3 separate regions of the Homo sapiens genome follow, and regions 1 and 3 are each linked to region 2. The links are contacts of gene promoters, found by promoter capture Hi-C in human tissues and cell types (Jung and others, 2019). All regions are on one chromosome and are shown on one strand. Each heading gives the region's core, a stretch centred on a gene start or on the middle of the fragment in contact. The rest is flanking DNA. Distances are from core to core; before and after follow the strand shown.

Region 1 (3,381 bases), core at 601-3,100, 540 kb before region 2:
TTAGTTTAAGGTGGCCTTTCTTCCCAGTAATTCCACTCATTATAAACACTTGTGCATTTGTGACAACATGTAAAAACATATGTTTCCTCATAAGGAAGCTGGGTTTTCTCCGTGGTCCCAGCAGCTATTGAGACTCAGCTGTAAGGTTTAGTGTGCCAAGGAAGATGGGGATGTGAGCTGCCCAAATCAGGGGAAGTTCATCGCACAGGGAAGAAAAGTGAGGCTCTGCTGGGAAGGGAGTAGGGGGTAGCCCACCAGACAGGAAGGATGGGGAAAGCCCTACTGTTGGAAAAAGAGCAGTTCAGAGGAGAGCCCGCAGGAGATGGGATAGGAAATAGCCTGTCCCTGATGTGTCCCCTAGAAAGACCAGAAGCTTACCCCAGGGTGGACTATGACAGCAGACACGAGCAGGATACCCAGTGACCAAGGAGACTAATGGCATCCCCACAGAGGAAGAGAAACCCGGCGACCACACAGAAACCCACACAGACCAACTTCCTTCCCCTAAAGCTCCTGCCCTCATCCAGACACCATTTTGACTGAGAGATGCCAGGGTAGAGAAGCCCATAAGGCTGATGTAGATCATTTACTCAATGGAGATGTTCAAACCAAAGAAGGCTAGGATCTTTAAATGGCAAATTTACATTTCCCTGGCCATGGCCCACCACTGGCAGGAAGAAGGGAGGCTTGGTCCCAGAACAGTTGCAGGAACCAGGCTTTTGCTGGTCTTCCTGGCATGACTGAGTTCTCTTGCATAAGTTGTTGATCCTATATACCTACATATATAGCTAAGGCATTGTGAGCACAGAAGACCTGATTTTTTTTTCTTTAGAAATGGCCTAAAGGAGAAAAGAACACAGAGTGATCCACCTTTTCTCTACGAAACCTTAAAAGACACAAGAGAAAGGTCTTTCTAGTAAGAAAAACACAATTGTTGTTATACCTGCTGAGTACTGCATCAAATTAAAAACCCATATCACAGTGCTCCTTTAAATCTGACCAGGTAGAGAAAGTGTTTCTCAGCAATCTCCAAAACTGGTAGGAAAAAGGTTATTATGTCAGTTAATCACCACATCAAGAGTCCTCCTAAGGAAGTCCTTTTCAGACTTTCCACAGCTTCTTAGGCCCCTGTGTGGCATCTGCCCCCTGCCTCCTCCCCTGGGTACTTGCCCCACCTCCTAGGCCTCTAAGCCATCCCAAGATGGGGTCATTTGAGGGGACTTCACAGTCTCTTTAGTATACACTGGGAGGTTGTGTTGACAGGCCATCAGCCTAAGCAGTAGAAATCTTCATTTAACGTGTTCTCTTGTAGTAAGCATGTCCTTTTTATTTTCTGTATTTTTGATGTTTTGACATCTGGGGCCTTGCTGACCCTAGACTAGCCAACTCTAGACCACAACCACCTCCTATCTGGGGCTCTTGCGCTGGACTGCAAACCGTAAATAGTACATTCCTGCCCTTCCCAAAGCAGAAGGGGTTAAAATCATCTCACTACCATGACTCTGCAAGTCCTCTGATGTTCCCTTTCTCCCATCCAAGTACTAGCCAGGCCCTGCCCTGCTTAGCTTCTGAGATTAGAGGAGATGGGGCATGTTCGGGGCAGCATAGCTGTGATAATATCCCCTTACTAATGCTCCTGTAGTAATGTCCTTACTCAACACATGTCTGGCCAACCTAAAGCTTAAATCTGGTTACATGGCATTTTTATGTGGTTCTTTACCATTTACAAGGCACTTTTGCTCCCATCATCTTATTGGATTCTCCCAGCCACCCTGTGGGGTCAGTGGGAATTAAATTTCTGATAAAATCCCTCTCTGCTCAACCGATTCCTGAATATTAAAGGAAATTTCAGCAAAATTTCATTATTGCAACATACTGAACACCAATGGAATTCAAAATCTTTTGAGGCCATTTCTACCAATCTTAGAAAATTTCTCTCTATTCAGCCAAACAGGGCTCTGTTCAATAGGAGCTGAATTCTGACATGAAACTTGGAACAAGGAAACTTATCTGATACCATTTGCATCCATAATACTTAGGTCAAGATCACATGCAAAAAACATCCATATTCTACACATTCATTCATCACTAAGGAAAACACTCAAATGCAGAAGGTTCAGGAAATAGATGTGGGAAAATGTATTCAGAATCCTACTACAGCTAGAGCCATAATTAGAAGTCTTGTGCTTGCCAGCTCTGAAGTGCTAATCTTTAAGATGGTCCAGATATTCAAGAAAACTAATAAATCCTTTTTAGTGCTATGCTTCTCTGTAGAACATATGAAAATGGGAGTTTTAAAAGTTACAAATTGGATGACACTTACAGATAAACTTTGCTTTGTACAGTAGATTCTTTTTTAAATGTGTAAGCTGACTGAACTTTTGTGAGTCAGGTTGCATTTTAAGTAAAAGAATCCAGAAAAGGAAGCGTTTGCTATTTAAGGGGATCATATATATATATGATTCCAGTTATTATTATATATACATCTATATATGTAATACATATAATCACCTTAAAGTTATCTTCTAATTTATATATTTTGTAAATCTGTAATTTTACATTTCAGATTTGCTTGAAGTAGGATACATATGGATTTAATTTGCAAAACAATTCATCTAAACTCCCTTATTTAGAAGATTTTTTATGTATTAGAATATGATTTTGTAAATAGCTGCTGGTGGCTGCATTTAGTAAGGATCTAAATGTCTAGTTCCAATTTTGATACAAACTAGTTGTGTGACTTTAGACAAATTACTTGTTATGTCCGGTTTCTTCTTCTGTAAAATGAGAAGTTTAGATTAAGTTATTTTTTCATTTTCTGATTTTCCATATACACTCATGTGTTCAACTTTAATACTTGACATATATCAGAATGTTAATATATATTAAGATCAATTTTCTAAGAACAATTTTTACATTTTTCCCTGTAGCTTTAATGCTATTAAATTCAAGCCTGCTTAATGCTTCTACCAGGTAATGATTTTGCAAGATGTTTTAAGTATCCAGCCTTGTTTACTCCTGTGAAGCAAGGAATATTACTTGAAAATAATAACTGTGTACTGCTCTCCAATGGAGAATCATTACATTTATGACCTTGAGTTTCTATTGAATTTCTCTCTATGTGTTTATTATCCCATACTCAGCCAATGACCATATGTTCTCCTCAAGACAGCTACTACTACTGTCAGAGATATGCTTATAAGATTTATTTTTGTCATTATTTACTTTTTAATGATATTTATACTCTGGCCATAAATGAGAGAAGACAGATGCATCATTTCCCCAACCTTGCCAGACAAAAAGGAATATATTCAGAGTCAAACAAACAATGTAGCACATACTTACTTCTCTGCTTCAAAACAGAGTGCTAAAATCAGGGTT
Region 2 (3,346 bases), core at 785-3,284:
ATCATGTTTTGTGCCACATGTCCCCACCTCCCCTTCCAAAGCCAACTAGGCTAGCATCTCTGGCCTCAAACAAAGAGGCCCCAGGGAAAACCAGGCAGTTGGCAGAAGGAGCTGAAGGAGAAGTCATGAAAATAAATAATAAAGTTGGATGAGGGGATTGACAAGCTAAAGTTATGAAGAATCAGGCACAACAGGTATAGGGGCTATGAGCAAAAGATACAGAGTAGGGAGAAAGAGAACAAAGCATGTCAAAAATGCAGAGAAACTGTGCAGCTCATGAGAGAGTGATAACTGGCTGGTAGAGATTCTTATTTCTGGCAGCTTTCTTGTTCTCTTAAATGTATTCCTTCTTTCAAGGTAGTTTGAAAGAATTATATGACCTGAAGCAGGAAGAAACACTAAGAACACAAATGACTAAAAGGGTTTACACAAATTTTGTTTCCACATTTAAAAAAAAACCTCTAAAAACCTTTATCATTGAAAGTCTGAGCTAGAAGAGTCCTTGGAATCAGACCAATTCACTATTTTAGAGATGAGGACATTGAGGACCACAAAGTAATCTCAGGTTACACAGATAGTGACAGAGCAAGGACAAAACTAAGGACTCCTATTTCCGTAGCCATTACTCTCTGTCCTACACTGCACTAAATAACACCAACATAGAAACATTTTCCTCAAAACAAGTATTTTTGCAACACATTTTAGAGTGAGAAATTATTAATCAGTGAGAAGATGCAGACAGATGTAGAAAAAAGTTGACCCAGGTTAAATATGGTGAAGCCCAGAGGCAGGACTGTAAAATACCTGGATGCCTACTCTGACGAAACAAACACTTAGCGCCTCTAAGGATTCCCAAAGGACACACCTGAGGGGGAGGGGAGAGGTGAATACTTGTACCTCTGAAGCTGATCCACAGAAAAGCAGAGTCATCAATTTCCTAAGAACATTCTCAGCCATCTTAAAACAGCAAAAATTAGGAAGACGGCATATTTTAATGAATCCTTTGGTTAGGTTTAAGATAAAGTGAAGAACACACAACCCAGGATGATTAAACAAACAAAAGCACAAAACTCAAGTCCAGAGGCCACTTCGGTCACTTCAGTCATAGCTAATGAAAGTATCACAAAGGATCTTTTCATCAAATGAAGAACTAATGACGTTATAGGTCTATATTCCTAATTCTAACCACTTACAGGTGTGTGTTTTGATGGATGAGAAAACTCAAGCTTAGAGCCTTTAAGTAACCAAGATCACCAAGGCAGGCAGTGAGAGAAACCCAGGCAGGATTCGAACCCTAGCTGGCTGAGCCATTCTCATTACCGTCACAGTCAACAATCAACACGGCAGTTTAAGTTCATCCTTACCAGTCACCCAGGAGATGAGTTTTGAAGAGGGAGTTTAAAAGGGGCATCTGACTTTCTCTCTCTCCCAAAGTAGAAGAGAACTGAGCTGTCAAAAACAGAAAAAGAAGTGAGTGCGGTGCCGCCCGGGATCTACATCCCGCAGCTCCGGACCAAGCCCGCCCCGCTCGACTCGCGCAGCCCCAGCCACGCTCGGCTCTCCGCCCGAGCCGAGGCGCCGCGGCTGTCAGACGCGGAGGGGCAGAGACGCGGCCCAAAGGAAGGGACAAAGAGCCTTCCCGGCCGCGGCCGGAGGCTGCCGGCCCGTTCCTAAGCCGGGTTTCCGCAGCAGCGGCCCTAGCGGGGCGGGGACCGGGGACGGGGGCGCGGCGGGGGAGGAGCGGCCGGCTAGGCTGAGGGGCGCGCGAGAGGTGCGGGCCCGGCTGGCGGACTCGCCCCTTACTCATTACCTGGCCGTGGGCTTCTCGTCACGGTCGCCGCCGCCACGGAGCTTCTGAGCCGGGGCGACGCAGCGAGAGCTAATAAGCGGGCGTCAGCTGCGTCCCACACTGGCGAAGCAGCCTCCAGATCGAGCTGGAGAAACGCCGGTGGGTGGGAGTTGGGACGAGGTTTGTTCCCAGCTTGTGGAGATTTTACTCCGCTCGTCCCTCGCACTCGGCTTCCGCTCCGCCTCCCTGCCGGCCCTTCCCGCACTCGGGGGCCAGCCGCCCGCGGCGCGCGGCATTGTGGGGGATGTAGTCCCAGAATGAGGAAGCGGCGGCACGTGCTTCCAGCCGCCCTGCACCTACCCTGGGTCAGAACGACGCAGCTGCGCGGCAACCAGAGAGGGCGGCGGGGTCTTCTGTGTTGGAAGATGAGCCCGCCAGAGGCATACCCTCGGCCTTAACTCGCTGCAGGCGCTGGAAGAAGGGCTCTGGCGTCTTGTTCCCGACCCTCCGGTGAGGAACCAACCTCCTAATACTATTGACCTGAGGCTGGGAAAGCTTAGTGATGATTAAGTGTGCTACAGATGAGACTACCCATTATTGAAGCCAAAGGTCCTTAGCCAGTGGAGTGAGGCAAGAAAAATAAAAGGATTGAAGATTAAATAGGAAGAAACAAAATTATTTTTTCATAGATTATGTAATTATGTACGTGGAGGCCGGGCGCCGTTGGCTCATGCCTGTAATCCCAGCAGTTTGTGAGGCCAAGACGGGAGGATCACCTGAGGTCGGGAATTCGAGACCAGCCTGGCCAACATGGTGAAACCCCGTCTCTACTACAGATACGAACTTAGCAGGGCGAGGTGGCGGACGCCTGTAATTCCAGCCTCTCGGGGAGCTGAGGCGGGAGAATTGCTTGAACCCAGGAGGCGGAGGTTGCAGTGAGCTGATATCGCGCCACTGCACTCCAGCCTGGGCAACAAGAGCAGAACTCCGTCTCAAAAAAAAAAAAAAATTGTTTGTGGCACTTCAAAACAATCTGCAGATAAACTGTTAACAATAAAAGTTTTTAACAAGGTTAATAGATACAAAAATCATATTTTAAAAAATCAATATTTATTTATATATGCTAGTAAAAAAGATAATTTTTTTAAAGATACCATTTCCAACAGCTCCAAACAAATATCAAGTACCTAGGAATAAATCGATCAAAGAAATGCAAAACCTGCCTGAAGAAAACATTGGAAGACACTGAAGAAGACCTAAATAAAGATGTAACATGTTCATAAATTGGAAGAGTCAATACTGAAAAATGCCAAGTCTCTCCAAACCTACCTACAGAGCCAGTGCAATTCCCAACAAAATCTCAATAAATTTCTGTGTATGTGTGAGAAACTTGACAAGCTAATTCAAAATGTTATGGAAGAGCAAAGACAAGCATTCATGAGGAAGAGGAGGAAGAAAAAAAAAGAAGAGGAGAAGGAGTGGGAGGAGGAAAACTTGTGCTACCGGATAACAAGCTTTATTATAGACTAGGCACGGTGGCCCATGCCTATGATCTCA
Region 3 (3,371 bases), core at 623-3,122, 820 kb before region 2:
GGAAAGAGGACAACCTAGAATTGGGCACGATTACATTGACTTCAGTTTAGTGTTATTTCAAAGGCTGCCCATGAGATTAATGATATATAATGGTATCAGTGAGCTTCACCTCCTCCATCTCCCACCTCACAGCTTCCCTTGTTTCTCGTAAAAATCTAGGGGTCCCAGCAGCCAGGAGGGTAAGTGACCTGACTGGTCAGGGAACCCTAGAACGGCAGGCTTTCTGCCTTTTTCCCCTTTCAAAGGAGGGAACCAGGGTGTTCCAAGCCATGCCATCTGGCCTTGATGTTGAGTTCTAGGATCCAAATATCTTGCTACTCTATAATTACAAATCCCAACTCTTGTATTTTGTTTCTTACTGCACCATTGAGTACTTGAGGCTTCAGGGCAGCCTCCTCTTTCTTTGATTTCCTTTACTTTTTGTTCTGGGTCACATCAAGTCATCTCCTATGGTAACTGGTGTGGGCTATGAATTTCCAAGCCTGTGTAGATTTAAACATGTATTTATTCTAGTTTCCCACTTGATTGACAGTTTGGCTAGGTATAGAATGATAAGTGAAAATGGTTTTCTGTCAGAAATGTTGAGTCCCTTCTTCAGTGTCTTCTAACTTCATGAGAAACCTTGAGGCTAGTGTGGTATTTTGTTTCTTGTACAGGACCAGGGAAGCTTCTCTGGTGGGAAGATTTTCAGATATTTTTTTAAAAATTAATATTCTGACATTTCACAACCTGCTGTGAATGTTTTTATTTTACTAGGCTGGGCACTTGCTGGATTTTCTAAGTATGAGCACCCCTGTACTTTAGATCTTGGAAATTCTCTCATATTTTTCATTTGATCATTTTTTTCCTTGTTTTCTTTTCTTTTCGGTCTCTTATTAGTCTGATGTCAGATCTTCTAGAATGATAATCCATAACCTTTAATTATTTTTGTTATATTTTCCATCTCTTTTTTGGGATACTTCTTTCTGAAAGATAATTCTAAATTTGTCTTTGAACTTAACTCTTTACTATTTGAACTTAACTCTTTATTTCAGTTATTATTAAATATATCTTTTATATCTAAGGGTTATTTCCTCCATTTTTTTCATAGCATTCTGTTATGTTTTCATCATGCAATATCTTCTCAAATATCCCCGAAGATAATCATTAATTTATTTTCCTTTAAGTTTTCTTTTGTTTCTTGAATTATATGTTCCTTCTGGTGTTATGCTTTTTCCCTGTGTTTTTCTTGGTTCTTTCTTCCGTGTCCAAGGCTTTCCTTGGATGTCTCATCTTTCTTGGCTATCCACACATTTTAAGGGTAAGGCCTTGAAACTTATTAAGAACCTGATATGAGGCAGGTTACTGATTGGCAGGCTTCTTTTTAGGGTCATCAGGCATGAAACTGGCTCTTATTCTGAGAGTTCCAAAAATGCTTGAATTCAGAGACCTTTGCCCTGTAATCATTTATTTCTGTAGAGAACAATCCTCCAATTAGCCTGAGGTAGAGCAGATTATGTAAAAGCTCTGTAGTCTTGGATTTAAATGGCAAGTATTAGTATGAACTCTTCTATCTTATATCTGTAATTCCTTTTTAAAATACAAAGAATCTGGTTTTCAGGGACCCAGGGGATACTAGAATGAGAAAGTGCTGTTTTTGTGCTCCAGAGTTCAGTTTGCACATGGCAGCTAGAATAGACTTTTTTAAAATAAACTTTTAATTGTAGAACAGTTTTAGATTTACAGAAAAATTGTGAAGATAGTACAGAAAGTTCCCATATATCCTACCCCCAATTTCCTCTGTTACTAACATAGTAGTATGGTGTATTTGTCATAATTAATGAATAAATACTGGTACATTATTATTAACTAAAGCTCATACTTATACTTTGCTCAGACTCCCTTAGTGTTTACCTAACGTCCTTTTTCTGACCCAAGATCCCACGTTAGATTTAGTCATCATTCTCCTTAGGCTCCTCTTGGCTGGATTTTTTTCTCAGACTTTTCTTATTTTGATGACTTCGAGGAGTACTGGTCAGGTATTTTGTAGAATGTCCATCACTGGGATTTGTCCGATTTTTTTTCATGTTTAGACTGAAGTTATGAATTTTGGAGTGGGAGACGACGAGGTAAAGTATCATTCTTATTACATCATATCAAAGGTATATACTATCAACATGACTTATCACCATTGATGTTGACTTTGACCATCTGGCTAAGGTAGTGTTTTCAGGTTTCTCCACTGTAAAGTTACTTTTCCCATCCTTTCCATATAGTACTCTTAAGAAGAATGTAATTATGTCCAGTACACACTTAAGGAGTAGGGAGTTGTGTTCCACTACGTTGAGGGCAAAGTATCCACATAAATAACTTGGAATTCTTCTGCACAGAATGCCCTTTTAAAAGCACAAATAAGGGTATTTTGAGCCTTGATTAAAATGCTCTAAGGACTTCTCTGCTTTCTTAACATAAAATCCAAACACTTTACCCTGGGCCATGGGCCTATGCCATCTGGTCCCCACTTTCTGTGGTCTCCATGGGCCATGGTCCTATACAATGTGCTCCTACTTCTTACTCCAGGCTTCCTACAGGCCACATATGATCTGCCCTGATCTTTCTTCTCAACTCCATTTATTCTTCCCCTCTCTCAGTATGCTCAATCACACGGGCCTACTTTTGATTTCTTAAAAAGGTCAAGCACATTCTCATTTTAATGATTTTACCATAGCTGTTGCCTCCTATTTTTACAGGGCTAATTCTTTCTTGTCATTGAGGTCTTAGCTTAAATGTCCCTGACGATATGGCTGCCAATTTACTTTCTATAAAATCATCCTGTTTCACTTTGGTCATAATACCTATCTCAGTCTCAGTAATTTCAGGTTCATATTCTGTTTATCATCTACCTCTACTCATCTAGGATGTTCAAGTGTTGTGAGAATAGTCTTTATCTGTCTTGCCTATTACCATGATACTTTTACCCAGAACTGTGCCTGATGCTGTAGCAGTGAATAAATGAATGACCTCATTTACCTTCCCCTGGAGGCCTATGGAGAGAGAGGATATGAAAATATGAAGTCAGTCTATCACCTTGAATCAGAAGTTTCTGCAACTATGTTTAAAATGGTTAAAATAGTAGTTAAAAATGGTTAAAGTTGATTATTCGTGAGAAATCAGTAAATAAAGGCAACATGAAATGCACTTTTTAAAAGGAAATTCATTATATGGCCTTCAGTCAATAAAGCACAGGGCTCACTGCCTGGCTTTTCAGTTTACTTTAGGTTAAGTGAACCATTACTAAGTTGGGAGCTTCATTATATTTGCATAGTTAAAAGCACCGTCACCTCCAGTGTTGTCTTTTAAATAAAAAGCAGCCTTCCCAGACTTAAAATTTA

Evidence for each region. The method cuts DNA at HindIII sites, captures the fragments that hold promoters and counts their contacts. A contact is called where the count stands out against the background at its distance.
Region 1: a contact is called between a fragment that was not itself captured here and the fragment with the promoter of CCDC126 in region 2, in 1 of the 25 tissues and cell types used here (mesenchymal stem cells).
Region 3: a fragment that was not itself captured here is called in contact with the fragment with the promoter of CCDC126 in region 2 in 2 of the 25 tissues and cell types used here (lymphoblastoid cells and thymus).

The regions. Positions count from the first base shown.
Region 1 is chr7:24,130,940-24,134,320 of GRCh38, reverse strand. It overlaps the pseudogene RNA5SP228. Among named protein-coding and RNA genes, the nearest start is that of NPY, 150 kb to the left of the region's middle. The HindIII fragment of the contact is 3,348 bases long and covers 177-3,381 here.
Region 2 is chr7:23,596,070-23,599,415 of GRCh38, reverse strand. It overlaps CCDC126 (coiled-coil domain containing 126), which reads right to left and starts at 2,034. Exons shown (of 4, transcript NM_138771.4): 1 at 1,811-2,034; 2 at 1,365-1,449. It overlaps LOC105375187 (a long non-coding RNA gene), which reads left to right and starts at 2,091. Exons shown (of 2, transcript XR_927098.2): 1 at 2,091-2,299. RefSeq lists a silencer at 1,553-1,792. The HindIII fragment of the contact is 2,823 bases long and covers 2-2,824 here.
Region 3 is chr7:24,411,356-24,414,726 of GRCh38, reverse strand. All of the region lies in intron 1 of LOC107986777 (a long non-coding RNA gene), which reads left to right. Among named protein-coding and RNA genes, the nearest start is that of NPY, 130 kb to the right of the region's middle. The HindIII fragment of the contact is 7,052 bases long and covers 1-3,371 here.